Linked DNA regions of Homo sapiens: regions 1 and 3 are each linked to region 2. Evidence: promoter capture Hi-C in 16 types of primary human blood cells and fetal thymus (Javierre and others, 2016). All regions are on one chromosome and are shown on one strand. The core of a region is centred on a gene start or on the middle of the fragment in contact, and the rest is flanking DNA. Distances in the headings are between cores, read along the strand shown. Region 1 has its middle 7.1 kb from the start of KCP. Region 2 holds the start of TSPAN33 (tetraspanin 33). Region 3 overlaps TNPO3 (transportin 3).

Region 1 (3,999 bases), core at 309-2,808, 230 kb before region 2:
ATCGAAAGTAAGGATCGGGCCTCGCTCCTCTGTGGACCAAGCCAGCCTCCAGCAGGGCGCCTGGGAGCCCCCATTCTGGGCGATGGCGGGGTGGGGGTGGGGGGGTGGGAGCAGCAGAGCCTGCGCCCCCAGCTGCGGTGCCGACCTCGCCGCCTGGGCCTTGGGGTTCCCTGGGCGCCAGCACCTCAAACGGATCGGGGCGTGAGGGGCGCCTGGGAGGTCCCAGGCCGGCGGGGCGCGCCCTGCTGTAGGCACCCACCGAAGCTCGGTCTCCAGGCGCAGCTGGACGCGGACCCCGCCCTACTCCAGTCTTCATCCGGTCGCCCGCAGGTGCCTGAGGGGCGCGGGCCCTGGTTGAGGCCTAGACTTGTGGGTGGGCAACAGCCGGTACCGCTCCCACCACCTTCCGGACGCGGGGACGCGGGGACGCGGGGACGCGGAGAGGAGAGAGCGGCGGCCGGGACCCACCTGTCTGCGATGCTCCTGCGTGGCTGCGCCCTTGAGCACTGGTGGGGCGGCGGGGCCGAGCTGACTCTGCCCGGGCTGCGCTGGGTTCTTCTGCACCGCGCCGGCCCCGACCGGAGGGACCACTCGAGGAGGCTGGCACTTACCGGTGACTACTGACCTGGAGGGAGCATTGGGCCAGGCCCAGGGCCTGTAAGGAGACGCCAGACAGATAGCGCGGTGGCCTAGACGACCACTGGGCTTCTTCGGCAGTCTGGAACAGGGAAATAGTAATTCCATAACCTCAAATTCCGCTCCGCGCCCCGCCCCCCGACTCCCCCCAGCTCTGAAGGGTCCGCAGGTCTTCCCCAGTCCATGCTATCGTTGAGCTCTGGCACCTGAAAGAGATGGTTTCCCGGGTCAAGAGCATTAGGATGCCAGGTGGTGGCTTGCGCCTGTAATCTCAGCACTTTGGGAAGGCCAGGCAGGAGGATTGCTTGAGTCCAGAAGCTGACCAGCATGGGCAACATAAGGAGACCCAGTCCCTACAAAAATAATAAAAAGAAATTAGCCAGGCGTCATGGTGAGCGCCTGCAGTCCCAAGCTACTCTGGAGGCTGAGGCGGGAGGATCACTTGAGATGGGGAGGTCGAGACTGCAGTGAGCCATGATGGAGCCACTGTATTCTAGCCTGGGCAATACATTGAGAACCTGTCTCAAACAAAACAAAACAAAAAACATCAAGAGACGACTCGGGTTGGGGCAGGATGTCTCTTTTCTGCCTTTACACAGAGGGTAGCCCACATCCACAGAGCCAACTCATCCTCTTGCCCCTATGACATGTCCCCGCCTGGGCTGAGGTTTTGCTTCCAGAGGCCCTGCCCTCCAGGGCTCTGATGCCTGTGCAGCCACCTCAGTCTGCTCCCACAGGAAGGGACCATCACTTGCAACCAGAAGCCATGCCCAAGAGGACCCTGCCCTGAGCCAGGAGCATGCTGCCTGCACTGTGAGCCAGGTCAGCCTCCTGCCAGCCTCAGCCCCATCTCCTGCATGTCCACAGCCACGGCCTGCCACCTGAGAGTCAGCGAGCCTGGGACATGCCCAGGGGTGCCTACCCACTCACTCCTGACAGTGGCCAGGGGAGTGCAGAACCCATACACAAGTCAGCAGATACTGGCTCTGGCCTGGGACTGAGCCAGAGACCATGGGGAAACAGGCACAAAATCTTTTTCCTGCCCTCAGGGAGCCTCCAATCTAGTTGAGAAGATAAGCTCATAGCCAAGCTACCACAAGATTGAAGACCCAATGAGCAGATTAAGAGGAGGTGTAGAAGGCAGTGCAGTGTGTATTTTGCCAGAGGAGGGCACAGGAGGCAGGGGAAGCCCGTCGAGGCTGGGCAGTCAGGGGGCCTTTACAGACAATGGGTCCTTTGAGCTGGGTCTTCATGGGAAAGTGGGGTTCCACCTGAAGGAGAAGGAGTACGTGAGGGTCCTCTGGGCACAAGGACAGGGTGGAGAGAGGTGGGTTGCAGGAAGTCCATGTGGGAAGGCCAGTGGGAACAGGCTGCTGTAAGCCTTGCAATTAGGACTTTTTTCTATGGGCAGTGGGGGGTATTGAAGGCTGAAGCAGCCTGTGGCATGGTCAAGGGGGCGCTTGAGGAATATTCACCTGGTGGGGGCTAGATGCAGACAGAGGCGTCGGGGCTGTGACAGCAGTTGTCTAGGCATGGAGCCAGGGATGGCAGTGGGCTGGAGAAAGGGGGATGTTTCTAAAGGACGGGCAGGAGCCGGTGACTGGCTGGATCCCCTGGAATAGTGGAGGCCGAGCTTGGGACACTAGGATAGCAGTGGTGCCAGGGACATGAAGAGAGCTGGGAGGAAGAGGAGGTCATGGCTATGCAGGGAGGTGTTACTGGCTCATGGCGGGATAGGGTTGCCAGATTTAGCAAATAAAAATGCAGAATGTCCTGTTAAATTTGAATTTCAAATAAACAGCACAATTTTTTAGCATAAGCTCAGAGTCACAGTGGGAATAAGCTGTAGAGAATGGAATCAATTTGAGGTCCTTAGGATCCTGGGGCCTGGCCAGGCCTGTCCACACTGACCTCCAGCCAAGTAGCCTGGCCCTATCCTTGGCACGACCTACTAGGTGTTCTCCCTAGAAATGTTATCGTCATGAGAAGTCCTAGCCTCCTCGCCATCCCTGGTCACTGTGACTCTCAGCTGCTTCTTGCCCAGCTCACCCCCTGCTCTGCCCAGTCCCACACCCCAGCACCCCCACCTGCCCTCTTCATGCCTCTGTCAGAGCCCCTGAATATTGCTGGACAGCATCTCACCACTCCATTGCTTCCATGGCAGACTCGTGGCCACAAATATCAATGAGCACTGGACATTGCCAGAAATCCTCCTACAATCTCTTGGCAAATCGTTCTCCCCCTCCCTGAGAGGAGCATTTTTTTTTTAACCTTCCAATGGTTCTGCCCCTTACTTGCCATATGATCTTGGCAAGTTATTGAACCTAAGTCTCAGGTCCTCCCCTACGAAACAGGGGTAATAAGAGCACTTCTGTCTTTGCTCTCGTTAAGGATTGTCAGACTGGGTGTGATGGCTCATGCCTGTAATCCCAGCACTTTGGGAAGCTGTGGTGGGTGGATCACCTGAAGTCAGGAGTTCGAGACCAACCTGGCCAACATGGCGAAACTCTGTCTCTATTAAAAATACAAAAAGTAGCCGGGTGTGGTGGCGGGCACCTGTAATCCCAGCTACTTGGGAGGCTGAGGCAGGAGAATCACTTGAACCCAGAAGATGGAGGTTGCAGTGAGCCGAGATTAGTGCCACTACACTCCAGCCTGGGTGACAGAGTGAGACTGTCTCAAAAACAAAACAAAACAAAAACAACAACAAACAAACAAATAAAAAACGATTGTCTTAGCCTGGGTTCCTGGAAATCAGAGCCTGAGACAAAGGCTTGCATGCAGGCTGATTTTGGAATATGATCCCCAGGAGCAGGAGGGAGGATTGGAAGTGTGAAACTGGGAAGGATGGAGAGCCAATACAAGGGTGCATTATGCAATGGAGCCGACCACTGCGGTGGGCATCAGCATCCGGTCCTGCAGGACCTGGGGAGCCATGTGAAAGGCAGGCAGGCAGTAGAAGCCATCGGCACTGGGAGGCCCCCAGGGCATTAGCTTGCTCCCAGTTATGCATGAGCCAGTGCCCACATGGGTTCCCGAGGGTATCCAATGCTGTGCATCAGAGAAATTCCAAAATGAGAGAGGTAGATTTGCAGCCAGGACCTCAGGAGAGACGCTGTCAGGGTGCACTGTGTGGAGCTGCTTGCAAACTGTGTACAACTGGAATGAGGTACAGCTGAGAGGATTTGCATAAGAGATGGCCAGCACAGGTGTTAAGTAGGATAATACACACAGAAAACTTTTTACAGTGCCCAGCACATTTTAAGCACCACAATCTGTTATTATTTTCATTGTCATAATCATCATCTCCCTCTGAGGTCCAAACCGAAAAGTCAATGTTAACATTTTTTAAAAATCTGCAAC
Region 2 (4,047 bases), core at 1-2,500:
TCTGATATTCAATTACTTCCGCAGTTTTAACACAATTCCACATGTAACGGCATCGGTCAGCATTATGTCCCACTGCTATTCCAAGCATACCCTGTGCTCCAGCCACAGCAGTCTGCTTATTTTGCACGAAACACATGGCGTGCTTTTGCACCTCCAGGCTTTGGTTCACCCCCTTTTTTTTTAATCCACCTGGATTATGTTTCCCCTCCGTCTCTACTATTCTAAATCCCATCCTCCCCTAATTTCACTTGCCACGCTATCTTCACTAACCTTCTACCAAACGTATTATAATTATTTGTGCGGTTATCATATTTCCACACTGGATTCTTAATTCTGCTAAAACGAAATACTGTAATGCCTTTGATGAGCCTTCCATGTGCCAGCCATGTGCTAAGTGAGCTACATGCATTATCTCATTTAATCCTCAAATCGCCATCTAGGTCAGGACTCTCCCATTTAACATTAAACAAACTGAGGCTCCGAGAGATTAAGTAGCTTGCAGCTTTCACGCAGCTAATTATGGTGGAATCAGATTCCCTCCCCGAGGTTCAACTTGTATTAGTTAGGGTAGCCAGCATAATATATTCGCCAGCTACGCTGCACTCAACCTGTGTGTGCCGGATCAGCATGTTAAAAACGGTGTCTGCAAGTAGACCAAGGGAAGAGGGGCTGCGGGGGCGGGAATTGAGACAGCAATGAATTAGGATGGCGGGATTGGCGGTGATGTTTCCAAATTTCCACTGTTGGGTTGTAGAGCTTCTGAAATAAGCATTTAAAATGTATAGTTACTAAACAAGATTGCATCTACCCTTGGTCTAATTGTTATGTGTAGGTTAGTTTTGTCTCCCTGATTTTATTGTCATCCCCCAGGGATTGTTTCTGTTCTCCCGCGTTCCCAGAGCTTTCGGCGCATTGCTCAACACACGGTGTGCGTACTTGTTGATTTTAATGTATGTGTGTTTGCATATGTGCACAGCAGCTGGGCGGAGGACGTGGGTGTGGGATGCACTGTGCATTCCTTCTCCTCACTCTTGTTCCTTTGAGCAGCTGCAGCCTGGATGCTTTCCCTTAGGGGTAGGGGAGAGGCAGAACCGCTGACCCTTTAACAAGTTATCCCTCACAGAACAGGTGTCTCCCCCGACTCTCGGTGGAGAGGGATGGCTGGATACTTAGTGACATCAGCCACGAGCCAATGGGAAGTCGGGCTCCAGCCGTCGCGCCAATGAGCGGCCGGGGGCGGGCCGGGTTTCCTGGGCGCCTGGCTGGCCGGGCTGGTCCTGCGGCCGCGGGTGAGTCTCGTCCGCTCGCGCTGCCCACCGCGGCTCCAGCAGCTCCAGGCGCGGTTCCCCGGCCCGCGCCGCTCCCGGCCCCCCGGCTCGGGCGCCTCCCGCCGCAGCGCAGGCTCCCCCGCCGGCCGGGCTCCTGCGCGGCGCGGCTCGGCTCATGCCCCCGGGCGCGGGGCACACAGGCCGGCCGGCAGCCGCTGGGAAATAGGCCCCCGGGGGCGGTGGCGGCGGCGGGGCCATGGCGCGGAGACCCCGGGCGCCGGCCGCCTCCGGGGAGGAGTTCTCCTTCGTCAGCCCGCTGGTGAAATACCTGCTCTTCTTCTTCAACATGCTCTTCTGGGTGAGTCTCGGGGTCGAGGGCACCTGGGCGGCGGGGTCCCCCCGCGGGGTGGAAGGGTGGCCCGGGGTGCCCCACGCGCGGGAGCCGCACTGCCGAGTTTTCTGGGCTGACGGCACTTTGGGGGAATTTATCCTGGGGAGGGACACCCCGGGGACGCCGCGTCTGCAGGGGGCGTTGTAGGGAGGAGGGTATGCCAGGGAATCAGTAAAGACTGATGGGTATTCTCGGGGCGTCGGAGGAGGGTCTGTGTTAGGCTAGAAATGTGGGTTTGAGGGAGCCTGTTGGCCCAAGGCGGACCCACTGACACATTCATGATGGGGGTCGGGGGTGGCGGCTGACTTTCAGGCCTGGGGGCCTGGAGGCCCGGCTGGCAAAGAAAGAAGAGGAAGGAAAAACCCAAACCTCTCTCTCCACCACCTCAGAGAGGATGGGTTACTGGCATCATCTCTTCCTTTTGCAGGCCTCATCTACCCCCACCTCCACCCCCCCAAAGTCTAGGAAGAATGGCCTCCAGGTGCAGATGTCTTTCCCATCCCAGCACTGCCCCAAACTTTGTCCCCTCCCTGCCACCCTTCTCAGGACCAGACTTCACCCCTGGAGCCTGGCAATCACCAGTGTCTTTAAACAGGACCCCGTGTTGGGCCGGAGGGCCAGGGGTCCTTTCAGAATCTTCTGCTTGGGGTGGAAAAAGTATTGGGCTGGGACTCCGGACACCTGGATTCCCATCCCACTCTGCCGTTCATTGTTGACTTGACCGACCTAAGCATGTATGTTCATGTCTGCAGGCCTTGACTCCCTCCCCCACAAATCCAACCCAGTGTGATCAGGGGTGGCAGAAAGACTGCTGAAGCTGAGAATTGAGCTGAACCAGATCATGCAATGCCAGCTCGACCCTGTTTCCTGGCTAGAGAGTCCTGGAGGTCCTGGGGTGTGAGAACATAGGGACATCCTTCCCCCATTCACCTCCTCTTCTGGCTCCTACCACACCAGAGCTGCTGCTTCTGGAGCCCACCATCCTTGCCCACTTCAGCTGGAGACCTAAAGTTCAGACTTGCAGGAGGGAAGAATTGAGTCTAAAATATGTTTCCTAGGGGAGGGAGCAGAACAGACATCTAAGCCATTTGCTGGAAAGGTTTCACAGGGCCCGTGGGGTGAGGTGCAGACACAAAGCCCATAAGTGCTGGCCTGTTGGGACAAATGAGAGAAATCCCATAGGGTGGTGATGACAGCGCACTCAGCCATCCTACTCCTGGGGAAAATGAAACTTGTGCTCCTATCAAATGCTCAGTTGTAAAACTGGAAAAAAATTTTAGAAGACATCTTGTCCAGCATCTGTGTTTATGTCTATAAAATGTAGAAAACTAAAGCACAGAGATGTTAAATGTTTTGTCCAAGGTCCAACAGCTGGTTAGCAGGCTTGGTCTGGTGACCTTTCTACTGAACCACAGTGCCGCTGGGGGAAGTCCTCAGCACAGATGGCTGCTGCTATAGCTGGGGTATGGGCAGTATTAGTAGTTAACCAGTCAACCCAAGTTCCCATAGTCTAGGTTCTGCTTCAGCTGGAGGTTAGGGAAAAACACAAGAAAATCCCTTACCACTCTACCAGTGCTGGGGGATGTACTAAGAGACTCCCCACTTAGGGGCAAGTATCAGTGAAGTCTCTGTGCTCACTGAGTGTGCCAGGCCAGTGACGTGACATCCTCGGAGCCAGCACTAGCATTTCAGGGACTTTAGGTCGTCACTCTGACTTCCTTTATCTGCCGAGACTGTCTCCCTTGGAGCCATTGGTACCTCACCCTTGTCTGTGCTCGCCAGTGACAACAGCTGGGTGCATCTGTTACACTTGTGTTCCTGGTCATTTTTTTTTTCTCGAGCTTCCCTACCCCCTACCTCCACCCTACCCCCCTTTTATCGGACAAACGACTTTGAGAGATCTCAGCCAGGAGAGAGTTTGGCTCCACAGACCCATTTACCTTGGTAAAAATGCTTCATTCAAGGTCAGAAGACGTGGGTGGCCAAGCTAGCACCACCCCAAATTAGAATAGAGCCCCTTCTTGGCCCTACAGTAGACTCATAAAAAATCAGAGGCTCTAGAAATAGCACACTGAAAGACAAGAGGCTCAGCATCTTTTTGGCACCAACTTACTGTGTGACCCTAAGCCAATGTATCTGTCTCTCTGACCTTAATCTTTCTCCTCTAAAGGAGAAACAATTTCTGCCTCAGTGAACTATTTAAGGATGAATGAATCATTTTGGGGACTGTTTTCTTTCTTCAAGACCTAGAGCTGGATCTAAGGATGAATCTCCCTGTGTCCTGATTGCCCTTCCTAGGGGACAGTACTTTTCAGGTGTTATTGAATGTCCCTTCTCCCCCAAACCCAGTGCTGCACAGGTATATTCATACAAGAGCAGCTGGAGAGA
Region 3 (4,523 bases), core at 36-2,535, 190 kb before region 2:
GCATCAGGGCAGGGGCCTGCCCTTTCAACTCCATCCCCAGATGTCTATCAGGTACCAAAGGCTGCTTCCATAGCTAGTCTAGCTGAACCATTTCCGAGCTACAAGGCAGTGAATGAAAGTAAAAACAAAGAAACACTGGTTAAATTTTAAAAATTTATTCTTTCTCTTTTGTTGCTGTTGATTTGTTCTTGAGATGGCTACAACACCAGACAGAACAGTGCCCTCATATCTGATGGCTGTGAAGGGCTGCACTCCTTTGAAACATTAAGATCTGCTTTGGGCTTCCCTCTTCGGCCTCACCCTCCCCTTAAAATCAAGTCATTTCCACACTTTTTAGTAACATACTAAATGACACATCATCCCTTGTTAGCCCTGTAAACATTTTTTCTCCACACACCCTCCCTCTTTTTTTCTCTCATGTCTGTGGGTGAATAATTCACTAAGAAAAAAACCTTAAAAAACAAAAACTTACACATTTATATCCTGCACTCCCCACCCACCCGCCCACCCCAGTTTTGGCTCTTCTCTCCAAGGCAGACAACAAACTGATGTGGATTGGAAGTGGACTGAGAGAATGAACGGGGTCAGGGTTCAGATATCCATAAATTCTGACCCTGGCAGGTCCCGAGCATCACCAATGTGACCACGATAGAAAGCAGAACAAGTTCCTTGCTTACTCCTCCTTGTCTAAACAACTCTAAAGGTGGGAAGAAACAGCTGGGGAAGGTAGAAGAAATTTCTACTCATTTGCATTTAAAAGGAGGGGAGAGAGAAAGAGAAGGAAGGGTAGGAGAGGAAAGAGAGGACAAAACAATAGAAAACCTGAACAAATGACCCTGACCCTCTTCTTCCAATTGCAGCTATTTAATTCATGTGAATCCCCACATTATCCCTAAGTAAATATTTTGTTTCACAGAAAGCTTGTCCTTTTGTTTTTCTGTGTACACGTGCGCACTGGCGCTTGTGCGTGTATGTGTGTGTGCGTGCATGTGTCATTTGCTACCAGGTGAATGTTTCAGTTCTGGTTTCTGTTTAGTCTTCCTTTTTTTTCTTTTTTCTTTACTTAAAATTATTTTTCCTTTTAGAAAGTTCACCAGGAAACCAGCTCCCCTCCCACCACGCCGGGCAGGCCACAGCCATCTTTTTAAAATCCGCGCTGATTTTCCCTCACACCCCCAAACAGGAACTCCTCAGGATGGCCTCAGAAGGCTGGAGTCTCTCCCTGTCTGGCGGGACACCCTGGTGGCGGTGAAGGCCCCTCTGCCACAACGGAGGTTTCTGATTGTGGGACACAGTCTGGTTTTTGTTTTCTTCCTGTCTTCTAATTAAAAAAGACATTCCTGACAAAAGAGATAAGACAGTCAATAACTGCACCAGAAAATAGAGCATTTAGTAAAATCAACCTTAAGGCAGAGGTTTCTATATTTCCTCAGGTACCTCATTCTGAAGTCTGCCAATAAGAACTCAGAAAAAATAAACAAATAAATAAAAGTCTGGCGTTTTAACTTGTGGGTTCAAGGGAGCTACTGCTTTAATGAGACACCGTCTGCAGTGTGCTTCCAATGCTGAGTGTGCTGTGGAAACAAGGGATGATGTGTCAGGAGGGCAAAGAGCCAGCAGGTCCAGGCCTCCCATTCCAAAGCAACCAGGGAAGCTTTGCCTCAGTCTGCTAAATCCCACAGGCTTCATGTCGATTTTATTTTGAAAGAAGGCTTTGCCTACTAATAACAGTTGAAAACAAAACAAAACAAAACACCAATTTAGATGCTATCGAAAGGATACTGTATTAAGCGGAGTGGTTCAAAGTGAGGACTCTGGTACCAGAATATCTACATGTGAATTCTGGCTCCACGAATAACTGTCAGGCAAATTGTTAAACATTGTTGAACCTCAATTTCCTCATTTGTAAAATGGGAAAAATAGTAACAAATCCAGAAAAGCAGATGAGGATTATCTTAGTTAATACATCTAAAACACTTAAAACAGTGCCCTGACACACAGTAAGGGCACAATAAAAGTTAACCATGAACACCTACAGCTGTCCATGAGCAACCTTATGAGGTGTATCAATGTCAGCTAACCCAGACACCATGCAAAACCAGGACATCCCAAATGATATTATTACTCATTAAAACAATCAAAGTTGAGAAATGATTTTGGGTGTGGCAAGGCACTGCTGAACATCACTTTTACCTATGAATGCATTTAACACAGAAACTACCAGTGAGTGCTACAGATTCATCAAGAATTGCCTCCTGGGAGAAGAAACTCACCTTGAGACATCAAAGGGTGGGCTTAGAGGAGAGCTACCTTTCTTCTCTCCATCAAGAAACTGGCACCCAAATTCTACTACCCACTCCTTTCAGCTAAGCTTCTTGCTTTGCTTCAGAACCAGGAGACGGAAAGCACGTGGAGAAAAGTGCTCATCGGGAGCCAAAGATGCTCCTCCTCTCCTGTAAGGGCCAAGCATCCCTAACAGCTGAAACTTTTTGAACGCTGATATGACCCTCAAGCGAATGAGCATTGGAGCATTTTGGATTTTGGATTTTTGGATTAGGAATGCTCAACTGGTGTGCATTCTGCAAATATTCCAAAATCCCAAAAAATCCAAAATTGAAAAACACTTCTGAAAGTGTTTTTTCCTCCGAAATCCCAAGCATTTCGGATAAGGGATATTCAATTCATACCTCCTGCCCTGGTCAAAACCTGGCACTTCAGCATTCAGGTCATAAAAGTGATAAGAATAAGCTCTTTGCTCATTACATCTGGAGGGTCAGTTTTAGGAGACTGGCACCACATATAACAGTCAACTTGAGGTTGTTTTCGCCAAAGTGGCCAGGTTAAAAATACTTATTTGTTTGTTGCCATGTACACTTACCATCTTAGAAGTGTCTGTAAGGGGAAGGGGGAAGAAAATGTTTCAATGCACTGTGTAACAGTTACTTTCTTATGGAGGTGAAAATGGTACCCCAAAGACACTGACAATTACTGGCTGCCCAGGCCCAAGAAAATCCGGGCCCTGTATATTCCAGCTGTTCACCACAGTTAAACTGCTGAGTCCTTCCCTGACTCTAGCTATAAGACTGGTCCCATGATAGGCATTAAAACCTATCCCCATTCCCAGGCATCCCCAACAGTCCGACAGTCCGGACAAAAGCTGGGAACTATGTATCCTCACCTGGGTGACAGGCACAGTGCAGGAGTGTGAGCTATCGAAACAACCTGGTGAAGTCTCGCAAGGCCCAGCAAACTTGTTTACATTCCTCAGCACTAGAAAAGAAAAGGTAGGTTGGTCCTTGACTGAGGAGAAAGACAGAATATGCTGAAAAACAACTGCAACATTGGGGCACACTGAGAACCGTCCCAACTCTGCTAGGAGCTCTCTCCATCGTCTCCTGAGCGATCCTGGCTTCAGATCTTTCTGTAATTCAGGGCAAAAATTATTATATATGAGAAAAGTTATAAGCTTGGTGGTCTTCAAAGGGTGTACTCTGGACACAAACTGCCCGAGTTTGAATCTTGGCTCCACTGTGCCCTTGAACAAGTTACCAATCTTTGTCTCAGTTTCCTCATCTATTAATATTATCTACTTCATAACACTGTTTAGAGGATTAAAATCGTCCACATACAGAGTGCTTATGAAAATAGAGCAGTGAACAAAATAGTATTCAATAAATGTAGGCTGCTACAACAACACTTGGTTGCTACGGCTCTCATAAGTTTCCTCATTCTCTTCCAAAGATAGATTTTGTTTACAAAGGCCGGTCTAGCAACTAAGTCTCCACCAGTCATTGATTTTCTAGTTGAACAGGCTGCTCAGGATTTCCTCCTGTGGGAGGAGGAGGGAGAGAGGAAAGGGTTAAAGCATGTAGAAAGAGAGACAAAGCAGGAGATGCCTATGTGATATGAATAGCCCAATATTCAACTGACCCTGTTTTTTCAAAAGCCCCCCGACCTCCCTTTGTCCAAAACTGTCACCAAGAAACCAGCTGATGCCAGCTTCATTCTACTGTATCTGTCTTCATAACAGTTTTTGCTAAATGAACATAAGGCTAAGCTAAAAGCTAAAGCAGTGGAGAAGGAAGCACTTCCTTTTTTTTTTTTTTTTTTTTTTTGATATGGAGTCTTGCTCATGTCATCCAGGCTGGAGTGCAATGGCACGATCTCAGCTCACTGCAACTTCCGCCTCCCAGGTTCAAGCGATTCTCCTGCCTCAGCCTCCCCAGTAGCTGGGATCACAGGTGCCCACCACCACGCCCGACTATTTTTTTGTATTTTTAGTAGAGATGTGGTTTCACCATGTTGGCCAGGCTGGTCTCGAACTCCTGACCTTGTGATCCGCCCGCCTCGGCCTCACAAAGTGCTGGGATTACAGGCATGAGCCACCGCGCCCAGCCAGGAAGCAATTCTTAATATGCTTGCCTTCCTGTAGCCCTCTCCCTGGCTCAACTAACTCAGATACCAGTGCCTACAGCCAAGGATTCAATGCAGATGAAAACACACTTTCCATCTCATAATGGTTA

The links. Contacts are between HindIII fragments. The CHiCAGO score rates a contact against its expected background, and 5 or more counts as called.
Region 1: a fragment that was not itself captured here is called in contact with the fragment with the promoter of TSPAN33 in region 2 in 3 of 17 cell types (naive B cells, endothelial precursors and total B cells); the score reaches 7.4 in naive B cells.
Region 3: a fragment that was not itself captured here is called in contact with the fragment with the promoter of TSPAN33 in region 2 in 1 of 17 cell types (total B cells); the score reaches 5.2 in total B cells.

Annotation. Positions count from the first base shown.
Region 1 is chr7:128,915,820-128,919,818 of GRCh38, forward strand. No RefSeq gene overlaps it. Among named protein-coding and RNA genes, the nearest start is that of KCP, 7.1 kb to the left of the region's middle. The HindIII fragment of the contact is 4,905 bases long and covers 1-3,999 here.
Region 2 is chr7:129,143,457-129,147,503 of GRCh38, forward strand. It overlaps TSPAN33 (tetraspanin 33), which reads left to right and starts at 1,251. Exons shown (of 8, transcript NM_178562.5): 1 at 1,251-1,626. The coding sequence starts at 1,525. RefSeq lists a silencer at 1,164-1,373. The HindIII fragment of the contact is 19,696 bases long and covers 1-4,047 here.
Region 3 is chr7:128,954,046-128,958,568 of GRCh38, forward strand. It overlaps TNPO3 (transportin 3), which reads right to left. Exons shown (of 23, transcript NM_012470.4): 22 at 3,179-3,270; 23 at 140-1,340. The coding sequence ends at 3,210. Among named protein-coding and RNA genes, the nearest start is that of IRF5, 18 kb to the left of the region's middle. The HindIII fragment of the contact is 734 bases long and covers 919-1,652 here.